Regions from separate parts of the Homo sapiens genome. Here regions 1 and 2 are each linked to region 3. The links are contacts of gene promoters, found by promoter capture Hi-C in blood cells and fetal thymus (Javierre and others, 2016). All regions are on one chromosome and are shown on one strand. The core of a region is centred on a gene start or on the middle of the fragment in contact, and the rest is flanking DNA. Distances in the headings are between cores, read along the strand shown. Region 1 overlaps LOC101927588 (a long non-coding RNA gene). Region 2 overlaps LOC101927588 (a long non-coding RNA gene). Region 3 holds the start of FER1L6-AS1 (FER1L6 antisense RNA 1).

Region 1 (4,591 bases), core at 206-2,705, 170 kb before region 3:
ATGCTGTGAGATGGTAAGTGCTGTTCTCAGCTATTAAGTTTTGGGTAACTTGAGACGTAGCTATAGATAACTAATACCCAGTGTCGGGTGATCCACTCTATTTTTATTGTAGGCTGCTTTGCAACAGACTCACTAGAGCCTTCAGCTCACCCTGTGGTTATTTCTCTAGTCCTGTAGTGTCTGATGGAATCATAGAGGCTCAGCTTGGTAGAATTCCATAGTAGAATTCCATATTGCCCCTGGGACCCATAAATAAAGGCTACTATTGCAGAAGAGAGAAAATGAAAGCTCCCCCTCCCTGCCAGAAAAGTAAATCAAGAGCAGCCACCCTTTCCTGAGGGAACTGCAGAAATGTGTGGCATCACCAAAGACTTGAAATATATATGAGTGGTTATTTCTGTATATCACTATATTTAGTTGGTACAGAAAGATACTTGGAGGTTAAAAAATAGCAGTGGACTATCAAAAGCTTAATCAGGAAGAGACTTCTATTGCAGTCACTGATCCAAGTTGTGATTTCCTTATTGAAGCAAATTGACAAAGTCCCAAAACCTCAAAAGCCCGTGGTCCCTAATATACAACTATTAATTTGCAAAATGCTTTTTCAGCTATCCCAATGAGAAGACAAAAACAAGAAGCAGTTTGCTTTTACCTAGAGGAGGCAACAGTACATCTTCACCATTTTGCTTCAAAGTTATGTCAACTCTGGCTCTGCCATAACTTAGTACATAGGAGACTTTCTCATCTTATCATTTTGCAGGGTATCCTGTGAGTCTGTTATATTGATGACATATTGTGGATAGTCTGGAGAGCAGAAGGAGCAGGTTCACTTGTATCTTGCCAAGACATGTGTGCCAGAAGGTGCTGATACCTCAGGGAAGTTTCTGGGTGTTAGTGGAATACTCTTTCTGAAACAATATCTTAGTTCATAATAAGCTGCTTAAGTAGCAAGGTGCTGCATGGCCAGGTACATCGTCCCCTCTTACTCATGGTTTTACTTTGTGAAGTTTCAGTTGCCTATGGACAACTGCAATCTGAAAATATTAAATGGAAACCTCCAGAAATAAATAACTCATTTGTTTTAAGTTGCACTCCATTCTGAGTACTCTACAAAATCTTGCTCTGTCCTATTCCATCCTGCCCGGGACACAAATCTTCCATTTGTCAAGCATATTAACGCTGTGTATGCTACTGTTTGTTAGTCACTTAGCAGCCATCTTGGTTATTAGATCAAACAAACAAAATACATAGGGTTTGGTACTATCTACAGTTTCAGACATCCACTGGGGGTCTTGGAATGTATCCCTTACTGATAAGGCAGGGGGACTACTCTGTTAAGTTTCTCCCATGGCCCAGAAACAAGCTGAGAGCTGTTATTTGCCTAAGAAACATGGTTTTATTCTAAAACCAGGGGCCTCTGCTATGATTCTCCTATGAGGGCTTACTGCAGTTCCCAAAGAGCCTTACGATATTAATTCTAATAACACTGGTACTTCCAACCTACTTCATCAATTGGGTTATGTATTAGGGTTCTCTAGAGGGACAGGACTAATAGCACAGATGTATATATGAAAGGGCCAGCCTGACCAACATGGTGAAACCTCATCTCTACTAAAAATACAAAAATTAGCTGGGCGTGGTGGCGCATGCTTGTAATCCCAGCTACTCGGGAGGCTGAGACAGGAAAATCGCTTGAACCCAGGAGGCAGAGGTTGCAGTGAGCCAGGATTGTGCCACTGCACTCCAGCCTGGGTGACAGAGCGAGATTCCGTCTGAAAAAAGAAAAAAAGAAAAAGGGAGTTTATTAAGGAGTATTGACTCACATGATCACAAGGTAAAGTTTCACAATAGGTTGTCTGCAAACTGAGGAGCAAGGAAGCCGTCCCAAAAACCTCAAAAGTAGGAATGCTGACAGTACAGCCTTTAGCTTGTGGCCAAAGGCCCAAGAGCCCCTGGCAAACCAGTAGTGTAGGTCCAAGAGTCCAAAAGCTGAAAAATTTGGAGTCCAGTGCTTGAGGGCAGGAAGCCTCCAGCACAGGAAAAAGATGGAGGCCAGAAGACTCAGGCCAGTCTAGTCCTTCCACGTTCTTTGTCTGCTTTTATCCTAGCCGTGCTGGCAGCTGATTAGATGGTGCCCACCCAGCTTGAAGCGGGGGTCTGCCTCTTCCAGTCCACTGACTCAAATGTTAATCTCCTTTAGCAACTCCCTCACAGAAACACCCAGGGACAATACTTTGCATCCTTCAATCCCATCAAGTTGAGACTCAGTGTTAACCATCAAAGATTATAAGAGCTGAAAGTCTGAGCTGCTTGAATGGTGCCATCTAGGAGAATATTTCTTGCTTTAAATATCAGGGTAATATCAGCCTTTTAGGTCACCAGATAAATAAATTTGGGGCGCACAATCAAATATGGTACTTCTCAAATCCAAAGAAGCTTGTAAAGCCTATTTTTCTGTCACTGTTAATGTGCCCCAAATCACATATCTAACAAATGGAACCAGGTTTCAAAGCCAGGTCAATTTGGTATAATAGGAGCACAAATTTTCAGTAAGGCAGGCCCAAGGTCAAATTCAAGGTATCCCACAGTATCAGTTTCCTATTGACATCATAAAAAATTATCACAAACTTAGTGGCTTAAAACAATACGAATTAATATTCTTGTAGTTATATAGGTTAAAAGTCTGGTGCAGATCTCACTGGGCTAAAATCATGGTGTCAGCAGGGCTCTGCTCCTTCTGGAGAAGCTAGAGAAGAATCTGTTTCCTTCTGTCCAGGTTCCAGAGGCTGCCTGTATTCCCTGGCTCATGGCTCCTTCCTCATCTTTAAAGCCAGCAATGTTACCTCTCTCTGACCATTCTTCTATATCTTCTACATCTCCCTCTGCCTCTCCTCTCCTGCCTCCCTCTTCCACTTTTAAGGACCCTCCTGCTTACACTGGGCCTATAAAGATCAACCAGGGGATCTCCCAATTTTAAGGTCAGCTGATTAGCAACCTTAATTCCGTCGGCAATTTTAATTCTCTTTAGCCATGGAATCTAAGATAGTCACAGCTTCTGGGGATTAGGACATGGACATTTGAAGGCAGGCACAGTGGGCTCAGTCTGTAATCCCAGCACTTTGGGAGGCCGAGGTGGGTGGATCACCTGAGGTCAGGAGTTCGAGACCAGCCTGGCAAACATGGTGAGACCCCATCTCTACAAAAAATACAAAAATTAGCCAGGCGTGGTGGTGCACATCTGTAATCCCAGCTACTTGGGAGGCTGAGGGATGAGAATCACTTGAACCCTGGAGGCGGAGGTTGCAGTGAGCTGAGATTGCATCACTGTACTCCAGCCTGGGTGACAGAGAGACTGTCTCAAAAAAAAAAAAAAAAAAAAAGACATGAGCATTTGAGAAGCGGCATTGTTTCATTTACCATGCCCACCTATTAGGTGAATTACCTTAGGCAAATTACTTAAATCTTTAATCCTGAGCTTCCTCTTTGTAAAGTAGGAATAATAATAGCCAGGTCACTGAGATGCTATTAAATGAGATAAATGCATGTATGTCAAGCACATAGCACAGCACCTAGCACATGATAAATGCTCAGTCTTTGTAGTATTCTCTTTCCTTTCTCAAAAATAAACAAATACACAATGTAGAACTCCCAAGCCTGTGTCCTGGACCACAGTGCCCTTAAATGATGCTTACAGCTCCCCCTGGCATTCCTCGCAGAGGGAGGAGACAGTAAAGGCTCAGAGCCACGCCCACTGCCTGCTCTGTCACTGGGTGATGTGGGTCCTTTCTGTACTCTGGGACAACCCATGCTCATCACTCTTGAGGTTTTTGGCACTTGGCAGTGATTGTCCTGAGAAGGAAGTGCTCTCCTGGTATTTCCAGGGGGACAAATGAATCACTGAGTGTGGCCTTGGCAAGTGGTTCATTCTTCTATGAATGGTGACAGATACCCAAAAGGGAACAGCACTCAATGCCCAGAGACTGGCTTTGGATACAAACAAAAACAGTAGTGATATTTACTGTTCCGGACACCCCCCTATTTCTGATGTCACTTGAGGCTTACAACTTTGGGAAGTGGGTTGGGAAGGCATCACCACCAGGCCACTGGGGAAATTAAGGCAGGCAGAGTGAATTGCTTGGCCATGATGACACAGCTTATTATCAGTCCTGGTATTCCAACTTCCACACCTGGGGTTCTGCACTACTCCAGGCCCTTGCCTTAGCCTTCTCAGCCAACAGAATGGTGAAAGGGAATGAAATGGCCTCATTTGGGTTTCATCTTACCTTCTCTGGTTTGCCTCCTCCTCTGCTCCCACATCCAGTGAGGAGCCTTGCCACAGGGCAGCTCCTGGCTGTGCATGTGGGCAGGGCTGTTCCTCCTTTGCCAGGGTCCTACGCCTGTCACTACCACTGACTTGGTACTTAATCACACTCAGCCTCACACTGTTGGCTGTCCCGTGTTTGACTCCGATTTCTCCCGATTCATGGTTTGAGTTGAATTTGTAAAAAGAGGAGAGAAGTGGCTGATGCTCTATTTCCATGGTCCTCACCAGGGGCAGAATCTTCCCCTCCACTGAGAAAACATTTGAAAG
Region 2 (4,478 bases), core at 725-3,224, 190 kb before region 3:
AGAGTTGGAGTCATATTTGTATCATTTATATCTTTTAGGTGGCTCATAAATACACTAAATAAATGTGTCTTGGTTTGAGTGAGTCACTGAATGAATTCCTGAGTGGATGCTGTTCAGACAGGTGGGGCTGGCCCCAGAACGGTGCTCTAGCTGACCATGCAGGGACCACGGGTGCTGCTGTGAGTGATGCACTTTCCCAGGAAGACAGTAAGGATATTTAGCATTTACTATGCGCCAGGCCTTGTGCCAAGCGTTTCTCATACTACAGTTTGTTTACTCCTCAGAACCATCCTGTGAGGAAGGTTCCGTTAGAGTCTCCATATTTATGCTCCTGTGGGATCCTCCCAACCCCACTAGACTGTTTTAAGCTCCATGAACAAAACCTCCACAGCCTTTAGGTCTCAGCCTGTGTCATCTTTTTGGAGAAACCTTCATTGACGCCTTTATCTAAAGCATCCTTTCCTGCCATTGTCCATGATCACAGCAAAGCATCTGTTTCCTTCTAACCACTTATTACAAAGTGTAGCTGTCCTATTGATTTATTTTTTCCCTTTTCCTAAAATTTCCAACTCCCTTTCCTCTGAATGGTAGCTGTACAAGGGCAATGGCCTTGGCTCTGTTGCTAACCATCGTATCTCTAGGGCTTAGCAAAATGGCTGGTGCGTAATAGGCACACAACAAATGTCTGCTGAATGAATGATTCTGACCTAATCGTTTTGTATCTTATGCAGTGCCTGTGAAATTGTAAGGACTCCATACTTCCTGTTGCTTCAGAGAGATGCTTTAGTATTTCTCTTTCTTGGTCTAGCTCTTTTAACTTTCAAAAATATTTTCACAGGTGTCTTTTTCACAAATGTTCTGTGAGCCTGGTTATTTTTTATTCAAAAACTATATATATAACACCTACTCTATGCCAGTAGGCGTTCTGAGCACTTTACAAATGTTAACTCATTTTATCTTCATTACAACCCTGTGAGGTCAGTACTATCGTTATCCCCATTTTACAGATGAGCAAACTAAGGCACAGCAAGGTTAAATAATTTGCCCAAGATCACATGGCCAACAAATAGCTGAGCTAGAATTGAAACCCAGGCCGCCTGGCTCTGAAGTCCATGCTCTTATGGTATAGTGTTTCTTTCCAGTTCACAAAGGAAGAAATGAGTAGGGAAGAGAAAATGGAGAATTACTATTGATAGAACTCCAACTAGATTCCAGGTACTTTGCTAAGTAATCTCAATTAAGCTTCAAAATTGGATATCATCCCATTTTTGTAGATTGCAAAACTATGACTCAAAGAGATAAAGTAACTTGCCTAAGGTTATACAGATAGTGACAGAGTCGAGATTCAAACTCCAATCTTTTTCATTGTGAAGTCCCGTAGTTCCCTTTCTCCAAGCCAAATGGCAGCTAATAAAAGCAGGCTCAGAATTAGAACCTCAGCTCCTCTCCTGGAAGCCTCCTGCTTGTTACACAAGACTGGGATGCAGTCTCCATGATTTTGTTGCAATGGAAAAGCAGTTTCTCACAGCCAATATGATTCTTATTTGCATTCCTGCTTCGCATTGGTCAGGCCATGCCACATGATGGAACCAGCACTTGGTGAGACATCAGAGCAGCTTGCTCAGCCTCTCTAAACCTCACTTTCCTTGTTTGTGAAATGAGGACACTAATAGTTGTGTTTCCTACCTTAGCAGGCTATTGCAAAAATCTAATGACAATATGTTCACGAGAAGGATTTGAAGACTGTAAAAGTCTGTGAAGGAAACATGTGGCCGTGTTGTGCTTGAAGATCAAACTCTGAGGAATGAAGGACAAAAACTTGGCAGAGCCTGATGCTGTGGGAGTTTTGAGTGATTTCTCTGCAGGTGTGTCCTTGACTCAACTTCTGCTTCCAAGTCATGGTTTCTACGTCCATTTCTTTCCCATTGGCTTTTCTATCCTGGAGATGCTTAGCAAAGCAAAGCAAAGCAAAGCAAAGCAAAAAAAAAAAAAAAAAAAAAAAAAAAATTGTCATTAATGTATCCATCTGCCCAGTTTTTCATTATATAGAGCATTAAACATATAGAGTATCCTAGTTACTGGGGATAATACACAGTGCCCAAAATAATGAACTCCCATTATCATAGTCCTAATGGGAGAGATAGGCTGCTCTCTGTGTGTGTGCATGTGTGCGTGTGTGTGTGTGTGTATGTGTATCATGGAGCACTTGAAAATAATAGTAATTTACCTACATTTTCTTACTTTATCCTTATATAATAGAAATCTGACAATGAAGGGATTATACCTCCATTTTACAGATCAGGAAACTGAGGCTTTGAGGAATAAAACAGCTTAACTAAAGCCCAGTGCTCAGAAAGTATGGGGTCAGGATTCATTCTCAATGATAACTTCCAAGTCCAAATCTCATCCCAGTGATTGTACTAAACTGTATGAATACAGCTGCTTCAAACTCCCTTTTTTTCTGGTGGTTTTCATAGACTCTGCTGGGTTTATCAAACACAAGAAAGCTATGGGCATCAGACATAGTATAGAAAAGGTTGCCTGGGACTGGCTCAGGAATAGACATTAGAAGCTGGCATGAACTGAAATGGAAATGACATTGGCCTGTAATGGAGCAAAGTCCAACCCACAGTCATGGATGAGTGATGTTTGGAAAGTAGCATTAGAAAGCAGTTAGCATGTTGGTGATTTTAAAAGCTAAGCTTTTAAGGAATCTGAAATCTTTTTTGCCTTATTTTATTGTACTTGCCAAACTTCTGGAATAATTTTATGAATAGTAATAGTGAAAAACTTTTTTCTTGCTCCAGAAATTACAGGGAATACTTTGAATATTTTGTCAGTACTTTTCTTAAGGATCTGTAGACACCTTTATTAGATTTAGGAAATTCTCTTATAGTCCAAGTTTCCTAAGACTTTTCTTTCTTTCTTTCTTTCTTTCTTTCTTTCTTTCTTTCTTTCTTTCTTTCTTTCTTTCTTTCTTTCTTTCTTTTTTTCTTTCTTTCTTTCTTTCTCTTTTTCTTTCTTTCTTTCTTTCTCTTTCTTTCTTTTTTCTTCCTTCTTTCTTTCTTTCTTTCTTTCTTTTTCTTTCTTTTTCTTTCTTTCTCTCTTCTCTCTCTCTTTCTTTCTCTTTTTTTGCGATGGAGTCTTGCTCTGTTGCCCAGACTGGAGTGCGGTGGCAGGATCTCAGCTCACAGCAACCTCCACCTCCCAGGTTCAAGTGATTTTCATGCCTTAGCTGCATGAGTAGCTGGGATTACAGATGCGTGCCACCACGCCCAGCTAATTTTTGTATTTTTAGTAGAGACGGGGTTTCACCATGTTGGCCAGGCTGGTCTCGAACTCCTGACCTCAGGTGATCTGCCCACCTTGGCCTCCTAAAGTGCTGGGATTACAGGCGTGAGCCACTGCTCCTGGCTGGCTCCAAGAGTTTCATTTTTTATTTTTTAAATCACCAACATGTATGGAATTTTGTTGAATGCTTTTCAGTATGAGGAAAGTATCTTTTGTTTGTTTATTCTTAATCTGTTCATATAGTGAATTGCATTTTCAGATTTTTCTAATGTTTCACCATGTTTGCATAATTGGAATAAACTTGGCCATGATGTAGTAATTATTTTTATACCTTTATACAATTTTATACATGATAAGACTTGTTAGGGCTTTTGTATGTCTGCTTGTGAGATTGACCTGTACTTTTTGTCTGCTTTTAGCATCAGGTTATAATGTCCTCTTTTTCTATTCTTTACATGGTTTTGAATAAGATTGGAATTATATGTGTCTAAGTCTTCCAGAGATGCTAAGCAGTACGCTAGCATGCTGGGCCACTCTTGGTCTTTAAAAGCTGAAAGTGTTAGTATTTTATTCTCACTTGCTTTTTTTTTTTTTTTTTTTTTTTTTTTGAGACAGAGTCTCACTCTGTTGCCCAGGCTGGAGTGCAGTGGTGTGATCTTGGCTCACTGCAACCTCTGCCGCCCGGGGTCAGGTGATTCTCCTGACTCAGCCTCCCAGGTAGCTGAGATTACAGGTACCCACCACCACACCTGGGTAATTTTTGTATTTTTAGTAGAGACGGGGTTTCACCACGTTGGCCAGGCTGGTCTTGAACTCCTGACCTCAGGTGATCCGCCTGCCTTGGCCTCCCAAAGTGTTGGGATTACAGGTGTGAGCCACTGTGCCTGGCCCTCACCTGCTTTTATGGAGGCTCCCTCTGCTTCCTGTGCAGAGCTGATTCCACTACGGCTGGAGCAGACGCTAAAAACAATAAAATGTGTTAAATAGATAAGGGACTAATTGACAGGGAGGATGGGAATAGAGAAATTCTCAGCCTGCAGTCTGTTGCTGTGTGGCTGTCTTTGGGAGAATGTTTTAACTAAACTCCTTTATACCCATTTGACTAAATCCTGAAGGTCACAGAGAATGTCCTCCTGGTGGCTCCAGAGGAAGAAGGCTGAGACGGATTGCATTTACCTATTTTTACT
Region 3 (4,715 bases), core at 1,376-3,875:
TGGAGCCAGCTGTCATGGACAGAGTATAGCTTTAGAATCAAATAACTCTGGAGGGAAATTCTAGTTTCATTACCTACCTGATGTTGGACTTGGGCACGTTGGATATTAACCCTCCAAACCTTAGTTTTCCTCATTTAAATGGGGTTAGCACCTACCCTGCGGAGTTATGAGCATTGTCCAAGAATATTAAGTGCTTGGCACACATCAGGTGCTCAATAATTGCTTGTTACCCATCCTACCCGATCCCAGCCCATATTCTTTTATAAATGAGTAAACATTTACTGAACGCCTGCCACATGGCAGCCTTGGTGCACTGGGGTAAGAGACCATTCATGTCCTCAGGACTAAGCCCCAGCCTGGTTGTTGCAAATGGCAGGTTCCGTGCTTCACCCTCTTAAGATTTCCTCCCCTTCTCCTCTAATGCTCCCTCTTAGCCACTTAGTCTGTTTCCCTCTTTCATCCCAGAAGCCTTTCTCTGTCGGAGCTTTCTCTCCTTCCCTTTGTATTTCAATCACAAGATTTCTATGTCCCATATCCCCAGTGATGTTGGGAATGACTGGATTCCCCTCTTTGAAATATTTCATTCCATTAAGTCACTTTATAAAGCACTGGTTTTTCAGGAACAGCCTTCGGAGGCTTTTTCTCCCTGAGCCCCGCGTGGTCAGGTGAGTGCTACCAGCTGAACAGTGGCACTCGGCTATGACTGCAGGGGCCCAGGTTCAGCTTTCCTCATCATTAAAAATACATAAAGGGGGCATGTCACCTGCAGACAAGTCCCTCTGTGTTAGCGCAGAAGTGAAACAGGAGAGGGAAATTGGTACCCTTTCTTATGAAAATGGAAGTGGAGTGGTTAAGCAAAGTGACTCTGGAATTGGACAAACCTGGGTTTCCATCTTGGCTCCACCATCTTCTAGCTATATCGCTTCCGAGCCTTACCTTCCTCATCTGTAGAATGAAGACACTAATAACATCCAGCTTTGGGCTGCAGTGAGATGTAGCAAATGATGCATATAAAATGCTAAGCATTGTGCCCAGCACGTGGGGAGCTTTTAGTAAATAGCAGCTATTATTATTAACAAAAATGAGGTACTTGGCTTAAAATTATGGAGACAGAGTCCAGAACTCAACAGAACCTATTTTCCCTTTCAAATAATTATTTGACAAATAAAAGCCATCTGTTCCTTTGAGATATGGATGTAAATCAAATGAAGATGCTGTATGGAGATACAAAATACAAGGATAATTACACAGCAGACCAAGGATTTAGTCCAAATCCTGTACTTCACTAAGGCCCTGGAACTCCACAGTGTTGTGGCAGGTGGAGGAGGGCTCCAGGGGTCCATCCTATGAGAACTCCCTTGCTGTAGGAAGGAAGCCTCAATTACAACAACAACAAGCAGTCACATAGGCCTTAGTTTTAAGCAAGGTACTGTCCTGGGTATTTTATCCTCTGGAAGGAATGTACAAGGTTATCATCCCTATTTCACAGATAAAGAAATTGAGGCACAAACAGAGGTTTGTTTAGAGTCACACAGCTGATAAATGGAAGAGCGTGGATTTTGACCCAGACAGCGCAGCTCCAGAGTCTATACTCATCATCACCATGCTCTATACTAACTCTCAAAACACAGGAAAGAGAAAGCAGTCTGTTGTCTTCTCATTTTTATGCTCAGTCACTGAATGAGGATGAAGTCACCTTTCTTCTGAGGTGTCTCCTGACTTCTCCCCCAGGTAGAACTAACCCTTTCTCTACCTGGCTCTTGTAGGACTCTGTACAGCCCTGCACCCTGAGGCTTATCATAGTGTAGTGACTCGTGTGTCATGAGGCCTGCATCCATGCCTGGATTGTATATTACACTGGAGCAGAGTCTGGTTCCTCTCATCCTCCAGAGCCCAGCATGTGGCCTGGCAAAAAGCCAGCACCCGACAGGCACTGGTTCAATGAATGTGAGGCTGGTTCACATCACGCTGTCAGTGTGCGAGTCATAAATCAAAATGCAGTCTACTCTATCATCGAGGTCATGGGCTTTGCCCTGGAGAACAATGTTAGCCCTCTCAACATCAGCCAATGTCATGGCCATCATTTATCAATCATTTTATAAACTTAAATATCTGCTTCTTCATGACAGTCCCATCTTAAAATGACAAACCTGAGGTTTAGTGAGTTGTGTTACTTGCCCAAAGACATGCAGCCAAAGAGGAGATGAGCTAGAAAGTAACCTTAGGGCACTGTGTGTGCTAACCCATGGTGCTTAACTCCCTGAGATGGGCAATTCTTTACTGAGTTTTCCTCTTTTCAAACCACAAATCAGAGAACAGAATAAATGTTTAAAGAACAGAATCTAATGAGACAAGCATCCTACTGGATTTTTGCTGATTAGGAATCCTTTCACATTTTAGTACTAGTTGTATAGGATAGGGAGAAAGACAGAGGAAACAGGCACAGACCCATACTATGATTTGCATATTTGTCTTTTCCAAAACTCATGTTGAAATTTAATCCCTAATGTCACAGTATTGAGAGGCGGGACCTTTAAGAGGTGTTTGGGTCATAAAGGATCTGCCTTCACAAATGGATTAATCTATGATTAATAGGCTGTCATGGGAGGGGAACTGGTGGCTTCAGAAGAAGAGGAAGAGAGGCCTGAGCGAGCATATTAGCATGCTCCACCCCCTTGCCACGTGATGCCCTGTGCTGCCTCGGAACCTGCAGGGTCCCACCAGCAAGAAGGCCCTCATCAGATACGGCTCCTCAACTTTGGACCTCCAGCCTCCATAACTGTAAAAAATAATTTCCTTTTCTTTAGAAATTACCCAGTTTCAGGTATTCTGTTATAAGCAATGCTAAATGGATTAAGACAACCCATCTCCCTTAATACTCACAATATCCATTATGAAGTAGTATTTTCCAGAGGAGGGGGACTGTGAAGCATAAAGATGTTAAAAGCATGCGAAGCTCCCCAGCTGGTGAGTGCAAAGTCTAGCGCATCTTGACCACAAAACTGGAAAATGTTTCTCCCCACTGAGACCCCTTCATAATGATTGGATCATAAACCTCCTGCAGGTTGATCTGTGCTGTTTCCTCATTTGCTCCTTCCCCACTGCACTTGGCCTCGTGCCTGGCACTTTAGCCTTCTCCGCCTCATTCCTCTTTTTCTCCCAGCCTTCCTTCGCCTCAGGGACTTGCATCCTTTGCCCTAGGACAATGAATCACACTGAAACAATAGACCTTCCCCACACCAGTCCTTCTGGGCACATATTCGCTTTTCAGTCTGAAACATCTACACACCCAAAGATGCAGGTATTTGCAACATGCCCCCGTTGTTTCTTTCCTGGGATCTTCTGTGGGTCAGTTGCAGGCTGCAGGAAAGAAGCAGGCTGTCTTGGTTACCCTGGTTACCTTTGTTGTCTGGCAGTGAGAAAGGAACGTGACTTTGGCAAAAGGGTCTGAAAGTCCATTGCTGTCAGCTGCGATGAGGCCCCGGGCTTGGTACATGTGAGCCCTCAGCTGAAAAACATGCTGTTCTGTGGACAAATCATGGAAGGGGGCAGGTGTTAGTGGGCTTTTCAAGAACAGTGTGTGCACATGTGTGTCTGTGTGTGATGTCCATCTATGTATCCACAGACAGACAAAAGGAGACCACCAGCCACATCCACCCTCCTCTGAGACAGGAATGGAAGTCCTGAAGAAAGGGAAGAGGTGATATTTATGGGGTACTTTGAACCCAGCCATCTTCCTTGGTGCTTTCACCAGGTTATGTGTCTTATTCTTCACTAAAACCATGCGAAATAGCATGCTCTCCACTTCATAGATGAGGAAAAATGGCCCACAACCAGGTTAAAAGACTTTCAAAAGTTTGCACAATTAACCCATGCCGGAGCATCGATTTTATTTCTGATTCTAAAATCCTCTTCTCTTTCTAAAATATCAAATTTTACTCCCCAGTAATTCTCCTGTTTATACAGGCATGAGTGTGTGCATGTGTGTGCATGTGGGCATGTGTGGGTGTGTGCCTGTGTGTGTGAAAGGGGCTGCTCCACATAGTTTTCACTTCAGTAAACACAATATATGTCTCAAGTCATCCATTGACTCATTTTCCATTCAGCCAGCCAGGGTCATTCTGAGCACCTACTGTGTACAGTCTTGATCTCTGAGGATTCTGTGGTAACAAGACAGTCCCTGCCCCTGGAGAGCTCCTGGGAGAAGGCAGAAGATAAGACAAGCACCCACATCACAGGCAGGGGGTCAGGGATAAGTGTCCTGTGAGAATGCTGGCAAGGAACACAGGGGTAAAGGACAGGAGTGAGCACACTGTGCTGGGATAGGAGGCCTCAGGTTGGGGCAGCTCAGGGTTCAGTGGGGAAACCTCAAGTAAGAGTTGAGTTCATCACAGTCCTTGGTCCATGGTACTTTCTGATCACTGCCCCTTGCAGGGCGCCTCTTGGTTTTTATATTCACTTATCCCTTTTTACTTCTTTACCCACTCCCATTTCACGGACTCCCCCAAAGCCACTGTGTTCAGTGTGTCTGTTTTTGTGCAGACTTGGGGAGTGGTATACAGAAGCTCTTGTGGACTAACTTGAATAACGCTACTTAGTTAAATTAAGGGTACAAATACCCTGTGAACTCCTCCACCCCCTACAATGCCATCCCTACACTTGTCTCACACAGATCCATGTGGGGACTTGTACATGGCTACTACTAATCCTTTATT

Evidence for each region. The method cuts DNA at HindIII sites, captures the fragments that hold promoters and counts their contacts. A CHiCAGO score of 5 or more calls a contact.
Region 1: a fragment that was not itself captured here is called in contact with the fragment with the promoter of FER1L6-AS1 in region 3 in 5 of 17 cell types (M1 macrophages, M0 macrophages, megakaryocytes and 2 more); the score reaches 8.2 in M1 macrophages.
Region 2: a fragment that was not itself captured here is called in contact with the fragment with the promoter of FER1L6-AS1 in region 3 in 7 of 17 cell types (M2 macrophages, M0 macrophages, megakaryocytes and 4 more); the score reaches 8.0 in M2 macrophages.

The regions. Positions count from the first base shown.
Region 1 is chr8:124,203,538-124,208,128 of GRCh38, reverse strand. LOC101927588 (a long non-coding RNA gene) reads left to right here. Exons shown (of 3, transcript NR_125420.1): 2 at 1-13. Among named protein-coding and RNA genes, the nearest start is that of FER1L6-AS2, 34 kb to the right of the region's middle. The HindIII fragment of the contact is 1,967 bases long and covers 472-2,438 here.
Region 2 is chr8:124,223,428-124,227,905 of GRCh38, reverse strand. All of the region lies in intron 1 of LOC101927588 (a long non-coding RNA gene), which reads left to right. Among named protein-coding and RNA genes, the nearest start is that of FER1L6-AS2, 54 kb to the right of the region's middle. The HindIII fragment of the contact is 1,460 bases long and covers 1,245-2,704 here.
Region 3 is chr8:124,038,692-124,043,406 of GRCh38, reverse strand. FER1L6-AS1 (FER1L6 antisense RNA 1) reads left to right here and starts at 2,625. Exons shown (of 6, transcript NR_040044.1): 1 at 2,625-2,781. It overlaps FER1L6 (fer-1 like family member 6), which reads right to left. Exons shown (of 41, transcript NM_001039112.2): 20 at 3,401-3,525. The HindIII fragment of the contact is 11,424 bases long and covers 1-4,715 here.